Linked DNA regions of Homo sapiens: region 1 is linked to region 2. The links are contacts of gene promoters, found by promoter capture Hi-C in human tissues and cell types (Jung and others, 2019). All regions are on one chromosome and are shown on one strand. Each heading gives the region's core, a stretch centred on a gene start or on the middle of the fragment in contact. The rest is flanking DNA. Distances are from core to core; before and after follow the strand shown. Region 1 has its middle 34 kb from the start of ALDH3A2. Region 2 holds the start of ALDH3A1 (aldehyde dehydrogenase 3 family member A1).

The links. Contacts are between HindIII fragments. The study calls those that stand out against the background at their distance.
Region 1: a contact is called between a fragment that was not itself captured here and the fragment with the promoter of ALDH3A1 in region 2, in 9 of the 25 tissues and cell types used here (adrenal gland, aorta, heart left ventricle and 6 more).

What each region holds. Positions count from the first base shown.
Region 1 is chr17:19,611,449-19,618,123 of GRCh38, reverse strand. No RefSeq gene overlaps it. Among named protein-coding and RNA genes, the nearest start is that of ALDH3A2, 34 kb to the left of the region's middle. The HindIII fragment of the contact is 3,298 bases long and covers 1,219-4,516 here.
Region 2 is chr17:19,744,711-19,751,626 of GRCh38, reverse strand. It overlaps ALDH3A1 (aldehyde dehydrogenase 3 family member A1), which reads left to right and starts at 3,329. Exons shown (of 11, transcript NM_000691.5): 1 at 3,329-3,368; 2 at 6,493-6,659. The coding sequence starts at 6,498. RefSeq lists enhancers at 1,093-1,372, 5,653-6,620 and a silencer at 6,680-6,739. The HindIII fragment of the contact is 25,713 bases long and covers 1-6,916 here.

The DNA of each region.
Region 1 (6,675 bases), core at 1,618-4,117, 130 kb after region 2:
TTGCAATTCAATTTGCTTTTCTTTTCATAAATTTGATATCTCACTTTAGCATGCTCATGTTATTCTCTATTTTCTTAAAGATTAAACAAAATTATAGAAACCATTTTAGTATTCCTGAGTAGTAATTTTATCTGTTCATTTCTGGGTCAGTTTCTATTGATTGATGTTTCTCTTTATTATGGATTTTAGTTTATTATTTCTTTGTATGCCTGGTAATTATTAATTGGCAGACATTGTGATTTTTACTTTGTTGGTTACTACATATTCTTGTACTATTTTAAATGCTCTTGAGCTTTGATACAGTTAAGTTCTGTGATGCAGTTGCTTCCTAGAAGCAGTTTGACCTTCTTGAGGTTTGCTTTTAAGCTTTGTTAAGCAGGACCAGAACACTCTTTATTTTTAGGGCTAATATTCCTCTACTACCCAGGCAAAACCCTCCTGAGAACTCCACCAGCTGTCTTATGTATTACGAGGTTGTTTCATTCTGGATGTTGGGAACACAAACTCTTCCCAGCCCTTATGAACTCCAGGGATTGTTTTGTCTGCTCCTTTCAGGTGTGTCCCGCTGGCTTCCAGTAGCATCCTCACATGCACATCCAGTTTGGTAGTCAGCTAGACTTGAGAGAGCCCCTCTGTGGATTTTTTTTTTTTTTTGAGATGGAGTCTCAGTTTGTGGCCCAGGCTGGAGTGCAGTGGTGTGATCTCAGCTCACTGCAACCTCTGCCTCCTGGGTTCAAGCAATTCTCCTGCCTCAGCCTCCCAAGTAGCTGGCATTACAGGTGTGTGCCACTATGCCTGGCTAATTTTGTATTTTTAGTAGAGATAGGGTTTCACCATATTGGCCAGGCTGGTCTCAAACTCCTGACCTCAGTTGATCCACCCACCTCAGCCTCCCAAAGTGCTGGGATTACAGGCGTGAGCCACTGTGCCCAGCCAAGATCTTGAAAGCACTCCCTCTCAAACTCTCTCCTCTCTGGTCCCCTGCCTTGTGAACTCAAGTCACATGGCCTCCCAAAACTCCCAACTCCATTTCTTCATCTCACAGAGATAGCAGGGCTTTCCCTCTTCCTGTGCTATGGCCTGGAAACTCTCCCCTAGTACACTGGGTAATCATAGTGTTCTCTCATTTTTTTCCCCTCTTTGGGCTGCCTGTTGTCCAATGTCTGAAAACTTTTTTCTTTTTTAAGATAAGGCCTTGCTCTGTCACCCAGGCTAGAGTGCAGTAGCATAATCATGGCTCACTGCAGCCCCAACTTCCTGGGCTTAGGTGATCCTCCCACAGAGCTGGGACTACAAGCATGTGCCACCACATCTAGGCAATTTTTGTAGTTTTTGTAGAGATGGGTCTTGCTATGTTGCCCATGCTGGTCTCAAACTCCTGGCCTCAAGGGATTGAAAACTATTTTAAAATATATATATATATTTTAATATATATATATATAATGTACATATATACATATACATTTATACATATATACATACATATATAATATATACATATTATATATTATATATACATACATAATATATACATATTATATATTATATATACATACATAATATATACATATTATATATTATATATACATACATATATATACATATTATATGTATGTGTTGGCCAGTTTTTAGTTGTTTAAAGCAGAAAGGTAAATCCAGTCCCTATTACTCCATCTGATCACCTCCTTGGTCCTGAGATTTTATAAGAATACGTTTAGGCATTGGTCTAAAATCAGTGAGGTCAGATGACACTAGGAAAGCACACTTGAAAATAATAAAACTGGGCCAGGCGTGGTGGCTCACATCTATAATCTCAGCACTTTGGGAGGCCGAGGCAGGCAGATCACCTGAGGTCAGGAGTTCAAGACCAGCCTGGCCAACATGGTGAAACCCCATCTCTACTAAAAATGCAAAAATTAGCTGGGTGTGGTGGCACGTGCCTGTAATCCCAGCTACTTGGGAGACTGAGGCAAGAGAATTGCTTGAACCTGGTCTTTAGAATTATTTCAGTAGAACCAAGTGTAACATTATTTAGTTGGTTTATCATTAACAGAAAATCATAATTAAAAGCTTTATTTAACTTTGTAAATTTGAAAGAGCATAAAGAATAGATGTTTTAGTTGAATATATATATATGATTCAATTCCTAGAGAAATTCTGATACATAGATTTTAACTTAGCACACTAAGTTCAGCACAGATGCCAGGGAGTAGAATGCTTGACTCACCAGCACACAGGAGAACTGTGGTGCAGGAGCACCAAGCCTCCTCTACATTCCCTTCCCCCAGAGCATTGCCCACTCGGATGCTGGCTGCAACTCCAAGGCCCAGGGGTACCTGAGAATTAAGAAGCATAAATCACAGTCGTAAAGCCTGAACATTGGAGTATTAGTGCACTAGCGTCTAACTAAATGGAAACAGGACAGACCCGGAGAGCTGAGTTCTAGAACTGGCTCTCTTACATCCTAGCTGTGTGACTGTGGACAAATTGCTTAGCCATGTGACATCCGATTTCTTTGCAGGTAAGGAAGCATGACAGTTGCCCTGACGGCTCCCTGTACCACATTCATCACAGCAGAACCTCGTAATGAAGCTGGATTTGAGGGCAACACACCCCCTTTATTGGCTACACACACACTATCAAGACAATTCAACTTAGCTACATTATACAAAGTAAGATTTAACTTAGTATAAACGTTAGTATACAAATAATTTGTAAAAATTAAATGACCCATGTGAAAAAGCATTTAGAACCGCGCCTGGCACACTGTAGGAACCCCAGACATTGATGAAATCTGACTCCACGACAATACCTCGTTTTTGGTGGGATGGGTGAAACATTCCATATGTCTGATTATCCGGTAAATTGAAAGAGGCCCCTTCAAATGCAAAGGCTTAATTTTAATCATTGATTATGAAAATCTAAAGCTATAAGCTTATTTGCTTCTTAAATAGACCACCACTCAACCTTTGGGGCCACCTTCTTGACCCCTATCATGATCCTGCAATACAATGCTGCCCCCAGGGGCTGCGAGGGTAACGTGGGTTGTACAGACAACTTAGCTTTGGGCTCTCAAGTTCACTTTTAATCACTCGTACATCAGCTCTAACTTCTCATTCCTACTAGAAACAGCATCCTCCCAAAAGCCTTCTAATTCATTACTGTTTTGAAAACTAGCCTAAGTTCAGTTGATAAAAATATATATTAAATTGTTAAGATTAAGAACTTGAGGCCAGGCGCGGTGGCTCATGCCTGTAATTCTAGCACTTTGGGGTGCCAAGGCTGACAGATCGCCTGAGCTCAGGAGTTCGAGACCACCCTGGGCAACATGGTGAAACCCTGTCTCTACTAAAATACAAAAAACTAGCCACGCATGGTGGCACGCGCCTGTAGTCCCAGCTACTCGGGAGGCTGAGGCATGAGAATCGCTTGAGCTCGGAAGGCGGAAGTTTCAGTGAGCGAAGATTGTGCCACTGCACTCCAGCTTGGGCTACAGAGTGAGACTCCATCTCAAAAAAAAAAAAAAAAAAAAGAACTTAAAAAAAAAAACAGACCTGAGTATGAGTATATAAACATCTCTTAAGATTTGCATGCCTAAAGTACACATAACTGGCTTCCAGTTCAAAATGAATGAATCACATGCCTAACTCCCTTCCCTCCCAAAACACTGTTAATGGAAAATAAATCTCCATGCTTAATAGAAAATAAATTCATTAACAACACTGAGAATGAGAGCCGGTCAGCTTCTGGAAGAGGGAAAGCAGGCTCCACAGCCATGATCCAAGGGCAGAAACGCAGGAAGCCACAGCACAGAACATGAACAGAATGCTGCCTCACACTCCGTCTTCCCAGTAGAGCTCCAGGAGCACTGACGCCCTGCTTCCCCCCACCGAGGCTGTGAAGAAGAGCAGTCAGGGAGATGCGCCACAGGGCTGGGACAGGACACCCAAGCCCCGCGACCTGCCCGTCCTTAGCCTTACTGCACACAAGAAGCTGGGCTGACACAGAAAAGCCAAGTGTGGAGCTTCCTCCGTGGCGTGAGTCAGGCCCTTCTTCTTTTGTTTTGGGGGATAGGTGGGACATGGGGATAAGGTGGGGCAGGAGGTCAGGCTGCCTACTGCCTAATCCTCACCCATAAGTCCTAAAATGAAGATGTCACTGGACAGGTACCACCTTGGTACCGAGTTCCCCACTGGTCCTTCCCATTTTGGGGAGAGGCCTGTTGGAGAAAAATCTCCAAATAATAGGAGAGGAAAGCTATGCCGGCCATTTGTTTGATAAATCAATGTACTCATTCATTCCTAAGTATAAACAGACTAGTAAGATCACCAGAGCTTTGAGGAAGACTGAAGCACACATCCCCAAAACAGATAAAGATAAGTAAAAGGTCAACTGATCTCAGAGAAAATAGATGACTCAAGGAACACAGAAGAACGTTTAAAGTTCCGATTTAGCATCCACAGGGATATTTAAAAGGTAATGCAGCATAAAACAAGAACAGGTTCCCATAAAAGAGACTATAAGACAAAAAAAAGATGTTCTTAGAAATTAAAAATGAAACTAAAAAAAAAAGCAGCAAAGAAGATAAACAAAAAGACAAAGAGATATTTTTTAATAGAAAAAAAAAAGCCAAAGCCAAGAAGATTAATTCCCAAGGTCAACCTCCACCTAATAAGAAATTTAAAAAGAAAGAACAGAAAAAAATTTACAGAAAAGAGGGAAAGAATATTTTTTAAATTTCCCAGAGTTGAAGAAAAACACAGGTCTTCAGACTGAAAGGGTATACCAAGTGCTAAGCAGAAGTTAAAAAGTATCCTCAGAGAAATGCACTCTTGTGAGATTTCAGAACTATAAAGATAAAGAAATAAACGTTAAAACTTTCAAAGAGAAAAATCATGCTGCCTACAAAGGAACAAGAAACAGATTCTGAGCAGACTTCACATCAGTAACTCTGAATACCAGACTGAGACACAGCAATGTCCTCAAAATTCAGAGGGAAGTTATTTTGAACCTACAATCCTATACTCAGCCAAATTATTAAACAAGTATAAGAGGAAAATAAAGACTCTCGAATATGCATGGCATATGATTTACTTTCCATATAATCTTAGAACAAGTTTTTGACTAAGTACTCCAGAACAAATTTTTTTAAATTTTCATTTGGCTGCTGCTAGATCAGAAGAAAAAAAATTAAAGAAATCTAAGAAAGAGGAAGAAATGGGATCAAAGAAATTGTAGGCTTAATTCAGGAGGACAATGAGAGAAATTCTGGAATGACAGCTGTGCAGCAAGCTAGAAAAAAGTCTAGAAATCAATGGATACAAATTAATTATTCCTTTTTTTTTTTTTTTGAGACAAGAGTCTTCTTCCGTCACCCAGGCTGGAGTGCAGTGGTGTGATTTCAGCTCACTGCAACCTCCGCCTCCCAGGTTCGAGTGACTCTCCTGCTTCAGCCTCCTGAGTAGGTGGGACTACAGGAGCCTGCCACCACTCCCAGCTATTTTTAGTAGAGATGAGGTTTTGCCATGTTGGCCAGGCTGGTCTCGAACTCCTGACCTCAGGTGATCTGGCTGCCTTGGCCTCCCAAAGTGCTGGGATTACAGGCATGAGCCACCGCGCCCAGCCTGGATACAAATTAAAACAAGGAATCAAAGGGCCCTGAGGCATTCAAGAAAAAAATGCACTCATACTTAACAGTATGTTTACACACTGGATCATCTTAGTAACGAGATGAGGGGCCATGCTGCTCCATCAATAAGAAATAAAGGCTGTTAGAAATGCCAGAAAAAACAAATGAGCTGCACAAGAAAAGTCATGGCCTAAATATGAAACAAAATATGACATGATTTTGACCAAATGACAAAAGCAAGAAAAAATAATGCATTTCATCTTTCACTTGTAAAAGCCTCTTTCAAGTGGTAGTGTTGGTGGCTACTGGATTTGCATTTCCTTCTCGTCTGATGCAAGACCACATTTGGATCTGCAAATAATCATATTTACAAAAATCATAATATTATGAATGTTTATTTTTTTCAGACAACCCCTAACACATGAAAGACATGATAACCATTAGATAATACAATTCAAATGTCGTAAGCTTCACAAAATAAAAACAGTGATATAGCTGAGAGGTAGCTGTGATTAAGACCATGACCATGACCTCTGGAGCCAAGTCCCTGGGCTCAAATCCTAGCCAGTTACTTCCTTGAACTTGGACGAATGATACTCTCTGGGCCTTAGTTTCCTCATCTGTGATGCAGGGGAAAGAACAGTAAATCCCTCACATGGCATTGCAATGAGGAGCTTGTGAGTCCCATTTGTGAAGTGTTTCGCATAGTGCCTGGCTCATGGCATGTGGGTGGCTATTAAGCAGCATATGGAATTCTGGAATTTGGGAGGCAAATGGGAAGAGAGACGGAAAGAAACAAAAGGACCCCATGTTCCTCATCTTACAACTTAGGGGTCAGGTCACAGGGTCTATAAAGTTGTTGGACCAAGAAATAGAGGTCTATGCTTATTATTTAAGGTTATAAACAATTTGACCACTAAGAGAACTATAAACAGAAAAACAAAAACCACAAGGAAGAGGGAGATGGCACGTAAAGTGAGCTGATTTCTCATCTTTCCAACAGGAAGCCAACCGTTACCGGGTAAGGGTGATAAGAAGTGTAGGGA
Region 2 (6,916 bases), core at 2,080-4,579:
CCTCCCAACAACTATATCTAATCTAAATGTTCCTTGAAATTTAAGCAAACTCGCTATTCATTCATTCATTCATTCATTCAACACTTTTTTTGCTAGCTTTGGGTGAATTTGCTGAAAATCGTCTTGCTAAATGATTGCTTTTCCATCAGAGGGATGGTTAGGTGTAGTGGGCTGCTTCCGTATCTTCAGAGGTCTCCCTTGTGCCAGGATATGGTGCTGAACAAAAGTTGAGATCTCTGCCTTTGTGGACATTCCAGTCCAAGGGGGAATAAGGAGAGACATAGTCACACAAACAAAGATATGAACGCAGGTTGTGACAGGTTCCTGGAAGTAAGGAAGGTTTTATTTGAGAGGTGAGAGAGGTCAGGGAAGCTGAGATCTGAACATGGATAAGAGTTAGTCTGGTGCAGAGTGGAAGAAAAAGTGTCCCAGGGAGCAAGAACAGCATGTGCAAAGGCCTTGTGGTAGGAAATTGCCTGGTTAAGTCAAGGAATGCCAGCAGACTGGAGTGCAGTGAGAATGGTGGGAAGTGGTGCGAAGTGAGGCTGGCAAGGCAGCCAGGAGCCAGGCCAGGCAGGGGCTCACAGGCCATGGGAGGAAGCTTCCTGACAGCAAGGGGGTGCCACCCAAGGATGTGAATCAGGGGAGAGACATGCTCAGGTCCTTATCGTCCGCATGTCTCTCTGGCAGCCACTTGGAGAAGGCAGCTGAGCCTGACTCAAGGAGAGTAGGTAGAGGGCAAGAACAGTGGCCTGGGAGAGAGAGAGTGAGTGACAGCCCAGGTGAGGATGAGGCATTGGGGATGGAGTATTAGGACTTGCAAAGATTAACTCATGCTTGCAATCCCAGCACTTTGGGAGGCTGAGGCGGGAAGATGAATTGAGCCCAGGAGTTTGAGACCAGCCTGGGCAACATAATGAGACCCATCTCTACAAAACATTTAAAAATTAGCCAGGCATGGTGGTGGGTTCCTGTAGTCACAAGGTGGGAGGATCGCTTGAGCACCGGAATTCAAAGCTGCAGTGAGCCGTGATGGCACCACTGCACTCCAGCCTGGGCAACAGAGCAACACCCTGTCTCAAAAAAAAAAAAAAAAAAAGAAAAAAGAAAATCTGAAAAGCAAGTATCTGCAAGTTTCTAGCACAACCCACACTCCCACACTTTTGCCACTACTGAAACTATAACCAAAACCCAAACACGCAAACAAGGATTTTGTTCTTCGTAGATTTGAACTGCTTTTAGGCTCCTTGCTCTGACGCTTCCACCACTACTGCTGCCACTTTTGATGACACCCACACCACCTAACCTTTCCAGGATGCCCTCGGCCCGCCAGGCACTGTTCTGGTCACTTCGTGTACTCAATGCTGTGTTGCTGGCTTTTGCTAGTTGCTTCCATGGTTCTCCCAGGGGAGGGCCGCTGCCACAAGAAGTCAGCTCCGAATGGCCTTCGGCCTTGCATTCTGCCCTCTACTCAAGATCCAAATTCCCAGGAGAGTCAGGGAGGCCTCATGGGGAGCCCACCCCAACCCATGGCTGGCCTGGAGAAGGCACCTGGTTGATCATCTCACCAAGTAGGAAGGGGTTGCCTGCAAAGATAATCAGCTGCTGCCACCAGAAAAGGGGAGAGGCTGGCACAGGCTCGGTCTTCTCCCCTCTCAGGAGGCACCCCACTTTGCACCTACCACCCAGTCCAGCCCCTGCACAGGTGCGAGGTCCTGCAGATGCTTCTTTCTGCTGTTTCTGGAATGTTTCCCATTCTGTTAGTCTTATTTGGGGGTCTCGTCATTTCTTGCCTGCATTGCTGGAAGCTGCAGCCTTTGGGCTAGACCTTTCTCACACTGTGCCCTGTCCAGGGGGTTCTCTAAAACAAAAAATAGCAGACATTTGTCTGTCTGATAATCTCCTCAGCGCCCTGCACCCCCACAGCCAGCCTGGCCCACAGGCCTCCGTGAGCCCCCGCCCCAGGAGAGTCATTCACCTCCACACCTCCTGCTGGCAACAGTGGACACATCGCACTTTTTCGTGACATAACGTTCCCAGCCTCTGTGCCTTTGCTTCTGCTCTTCCAGCCCCCTTGCTGTTCCTTGCCCAAATGCTTCTCACTCAGCTCAGATGATGTTCCCTCCCACGGACTCTCACCCCAGCCCCTCTAGCATCCTCTGCCTACCTGGTTACTACAGTGTTCACATTATTTTGAAATTTCCTGTTTATTTTGTCAGTCAATAAATATTTATTGAGCATCTACTATAAATGCTGTATGGAGGTTACAGCAGTGAACAAATCAAATTCTAGCTGTCAGGAGTTAAGGGACAGGTAGCAAACAAGATATAAACGCTCCAGAGAAAAAATAATGGAGGAAGACGACAGCATTGTGCTATTTTCCACAGCACATTGGAGCGTAGCCGTGTGGGTGGATGTAGGGGAAGGGGGCTCCAGGTGGAGAGAAGCAGGAGGGCCAGAGCACATCCTCAGGACTCGTAGGCCAGGACCGGAACCTTGTGTTTTCCTCGAATGAAATGGGAAGCAGGGACCCCATGCTGGTAAGCAGTCTGCCTGCAGGCGGGTGAGGGTGGCGGGAAGCGCCTGGTGAGAGGGGCCGAGAGTCTGTTCCACACCTGCCTCCTCCCCACAGCGTGGTGCAGAGCAGGAGCCCAGCGAACATTGATCAGACAGCGTGGGAACGGCTTTTCCAGACTCCTTCCTTCCCAAGCATCTCTGGTTTTCGGTGACCACACAGACCCTTGGCCCTCTTCTCAGCTATTCAACGAGAGAGCAGATTTATGGATTGGAGACCCCCATCAAAAGTCCCCAGCCTGTGGCTCCCCAGGGTTAGGATCTCTGACTCAATGGGGCCCTGTGCACACTGGGGGATGTGAAGGGCCCGGGGCAGCGGTGGCTGGGGGTGCGTTTCGGGGGAGCTGCATGCTCTCACTGTGGTTCGTGGCTGAGCCCTGCCGATCTTATGTAACCAGAGAACTCAGAGAACCGCATCTGGCAGCGGCAAGTCTGGAAAGCTGGAAGAGCTCCATGCCAGGCTGAATCAATCAGCAGCCCCCACGCCCAGGGCAAACATAGGCTCTTTTGAAGATTGGAGATGTGCCCTGCCCAAGCCTTCAGAAACATTCTCGCATTTCAGAAGTGAACAAAAGCAAACAGCCCGGGACCTAATCCCCAAAACCTGGGCTGTAGGGAGCAGAGGTCCAGAGGACGCCACACCCCACATTTGAATATTTTTTTTTCTTGTCACGCAAACTTCCTGGGCAGGAACTCCAAGGGCTCAATGGACGGGAAGCAGGGTCCTTAAATACGTCCCCTCTTGGCTCTTGCCGTTCCAGGAGCCCCAGTTACCGGGAGAGGCTGTGTCAAAGGTAATCCTCTTCCCTGCATTCCTTATTTTTTCTCTTGTCTAGGTGGAGTCTGCACTCAGAGCCGGGGCCCTAAGTGTCAAGAGTCCTACATCATCTCTCCAGGGGGTCCCTGCCTCTGGGACCATCATCTCTGGAGCATCCTCCTGGACCTCTGGCAGCTCTGCCATCCCCCAAACCAGGAGGCAGAGGTCCCAGGGATCCGCGGAGCAGGGACACCAAGGTGGCCGTGGAGTGAGAGGCCCTGATGGGCCGTCAGACTCCATGACTGGAAGGAAGGCAGCAGAGCCGAGTGCTAAAGGCATGAGCTGCTGACAGAGATGCATGTGGGTTCAAACCCTGACATGCCACCTGCTAACTGTGAGATCAGATACAGCATTAAACGTTTCTCAGTCTCCCTTTCCTCATCTGTAAAATGCACTCATAACCGTTTCTTCTTCATGGGCATCACTACAGAGCTTTTGTGAGGATGGAAGGCAATGAGGAGGGGAGGAGGTGTCACTGGGGGGCAAAGTCAACACTGGCACAGGTGAGAGGAGCGGGGTGCAGGAATGTGGGGTGTGAGGCGACGGGCTCTGGGGAGGCCCCCAGTGCATGCTGCAGCAGCTCCCATTTGGGTGCAGCTGCGACGTGATGGTGTCCACTCATCTCTGTGAAGTGGCACCTTTGTTAACCTGTCTCTCGGGGAAGTCCTGGGAAGGCCGTCCAGCCCAGAGACCACAGTTCCAAGTGGCGATGCTGGGGTGCAAGGCCAATCCCGTCCCACGCTCACCAGGCTCTTCCCACCTGGGCTGCCTGCCTTGGTTTGACCGTACAAGGCTCGGGAGAGAAGCGGGACCTTCTCTCCTGGGTTGTGGTCAGCAGGAGGGGCCTGGCCCATGGGACTGAGGAGGTCCCAGTGAGGGGGCTTTCCCAGCCTCCTATCAGAACATAGGGAGGGACCATGGAAGGGCCAGGCTTAGAGCACCCTCAATGCCAGCAGGTCCCTCCTCCCTGTGCAGAAAGCCTGGGATTAGGGGTCAGCCTATGGGGAGGGGAGGCAGAGGAAGGATTGGAAGCCACTCGCTGGAATGTAGGCAGGACCATATATCTATATACAATATAATTATATATTACATATGATATATAGGGTTTTTTAAAAAAATGGAAATACCCTATTTCTGCTGATGTTAAAAGTTATGCCGGGTCTGCAAGTGGGCTGAGTATCTCAGGAAGGGGAGTAAGGAACTGGTAACAGTGGCCCCTCTGTGGGGCAGCACCTGACAGCTGATGGAGCAGGGAGGAGGGAGGCAGACTTTTTTCTGTGCCCCTTTGCTATATTTTACATTTTGTTTCATGAGCATGTAGTGCCTATCTTAAAACGCACCAAAATTTAAAAAATACAAGCTCATTGCAAAAAGTCAAACATTGCATAAGAGGAAAACAGATCATCAATAATTCCACCCCCATCAGTTGTCTCATCGTGTCGGGGGCTACCGTTCTAGTCCTTTCTTGCATGTTAGAGCGTGCACGCCCACACACACACGCACACGCGCGCACACACACGCACATGCACACACACGCACGCACACACACACGCACATGCACACACACGCACACACACACATGCACACACACGCACACGCACACACACACACGCACACACACACATGCACACGCCTGGTACATCTGTTGTTCTGTAACTTGTTTTCTGTTTTTCTTTCTTTCTTTCTTTCTTTTTCTTTTTTTAGATGGAGTCTCGCTGAAAGTAATTATATTACTTACCCGAGGCCTTCAAATACCGCTTCCACTGACAGCCTCTTGACTTCTAGCAAATCTCACTAACCTTGCCTTACCTCCTACCACTAATCTAATAGGAGAACTCTGTGATTATGGCTCCATTCTCCCGGTCAAAGTGCTGGAGTGCAATGGCCCAATCTCGGCCCACTGCAACCTCCTCCTCTCAGCTTGGTTCAAGCAATTCTCCTGCCTCAGCCTCCCAAGTAGCTGGGACTACAGGTGCCTGCCACCACTCCCAGATAATTTTTGTATTTTTAGTAGAGACAGGGTTTCACCATGTTGGCCAGGCTGGTTTTGAACTTCTGACCTCAGGTGACCCGCCCACCTCAGCCTCCCAAAGTGTTTGCTAGGATTATAGGCGTGAGCCACCGCGCCCGGCCTGTAACCTGTTTTCTTTCTTATCCCCAGTGCCTGAGACACCCCTGGTGCAGAGAGAGCCCCTACAAACATGCTGAATAGCCTGCTCCACCTAATCCCTAAATACTGCACAGTAAACCCTTACGTGGGTGTGACAGGAGTCATTTAAACTGTCTCCTTTCTTTCGGATCTTTGGGATGTTTACAATACTTCCCTGTTATAGAAAACAGTGATGACTTTCTTATTCGTGAATGTTTAGGAAAGGCTGTAGGACCTTTTCGTCACAGAGAAGTATGTTTGAAAAACTTTTGCCACATATTGCCAAATTGCCCCCAGCAGGGCCATCCCGATTTGCCACTATACTTTCGTGTATTGGTAGCAGGAATCGCCTCCACACCTCTTTGTGGAAATCTGCAGCTCTCTGAATCCTTGGCGGGCATGGGCGTGCGTCTCCCAGGTGTGGCACGCGTGGTTTACACACCAAGCCTGGTTCAGCTCTGCCAAGAAACCAGCGCTTTTTAGAACAATGGCTTAGCCAGGAGGGTGGTGCTGGGTTTTTCTTTATCGGCTTGGGTGTGGAATCGCGGACTGCGCCCCTCCAATCTGATCTGGAGAGTGGCTGACTGCGTGTGCAGAGCTCTGGGGGTGTTGGTCTGGGATTGTGCCATCAGCTTTGCAAGCAAGTAAGGGAGCGGAAAAGGCCGGGAAAGGCCCTGCCGCGAGCACGCTGCCAAGAGCCCCCAGCAGCAGTTCGGCTTAGGACTCGGGTTGCGGCGGGTGTCACCTTCTCAGGGGCTAGCAAGGCAGCCAGGGCCCAGGCGTCTGAGTGAGGGGCGGGAGAGGAGGCGAGGCAGAAAGTGGACCTTCCAGCGGAAAGGCCATTTTCCCCAAGGCCGAGCCCAGGGAAGTCCCTTCCTATAGAATTCAGGCAGGGTGGGAGGCAGGGCGCGCTCGTGCCCCTCAGCCAGCTGCAGGTGCTCTCTGTCCCCAGGCGCCATGAGCAAGATCAGCGAGGCCGTGAAGCGCGCCCGCGCCGCCTTCAGCTCGGGCAGGACCCGTCCGCTGCAGTTCCGGATCCAGCAGCTGGAGGCGCTGCAGCGCCTGATCCAGGAGCAGGAGCAGGAGCTGGTGGGCGCGCTGGCCGCAGACCTGCACAAGGTGCTCAGGCTGGGCGGCCGCCTTCTGCCAGTGTCGGGGCCATGCGATGGGGCGTGGGGGGAGGGGCTGGGGAGAGTGCGACCCAGAGAGGTTCAGGAAGGACTTGGGGCCACCTGGCCCCTCGGTCGCGGAGACTGGGCGCACCGCCCTCCCCTCCGCCGCGCCCCGCGCGCCCCCGCCGCCTCTTCCGCCCTCTGGCCTTTTCCTCCTGGCCCGGCCTCCGCGTCCCGCCCGCAGCGTCCCCCATTTCAACTTCC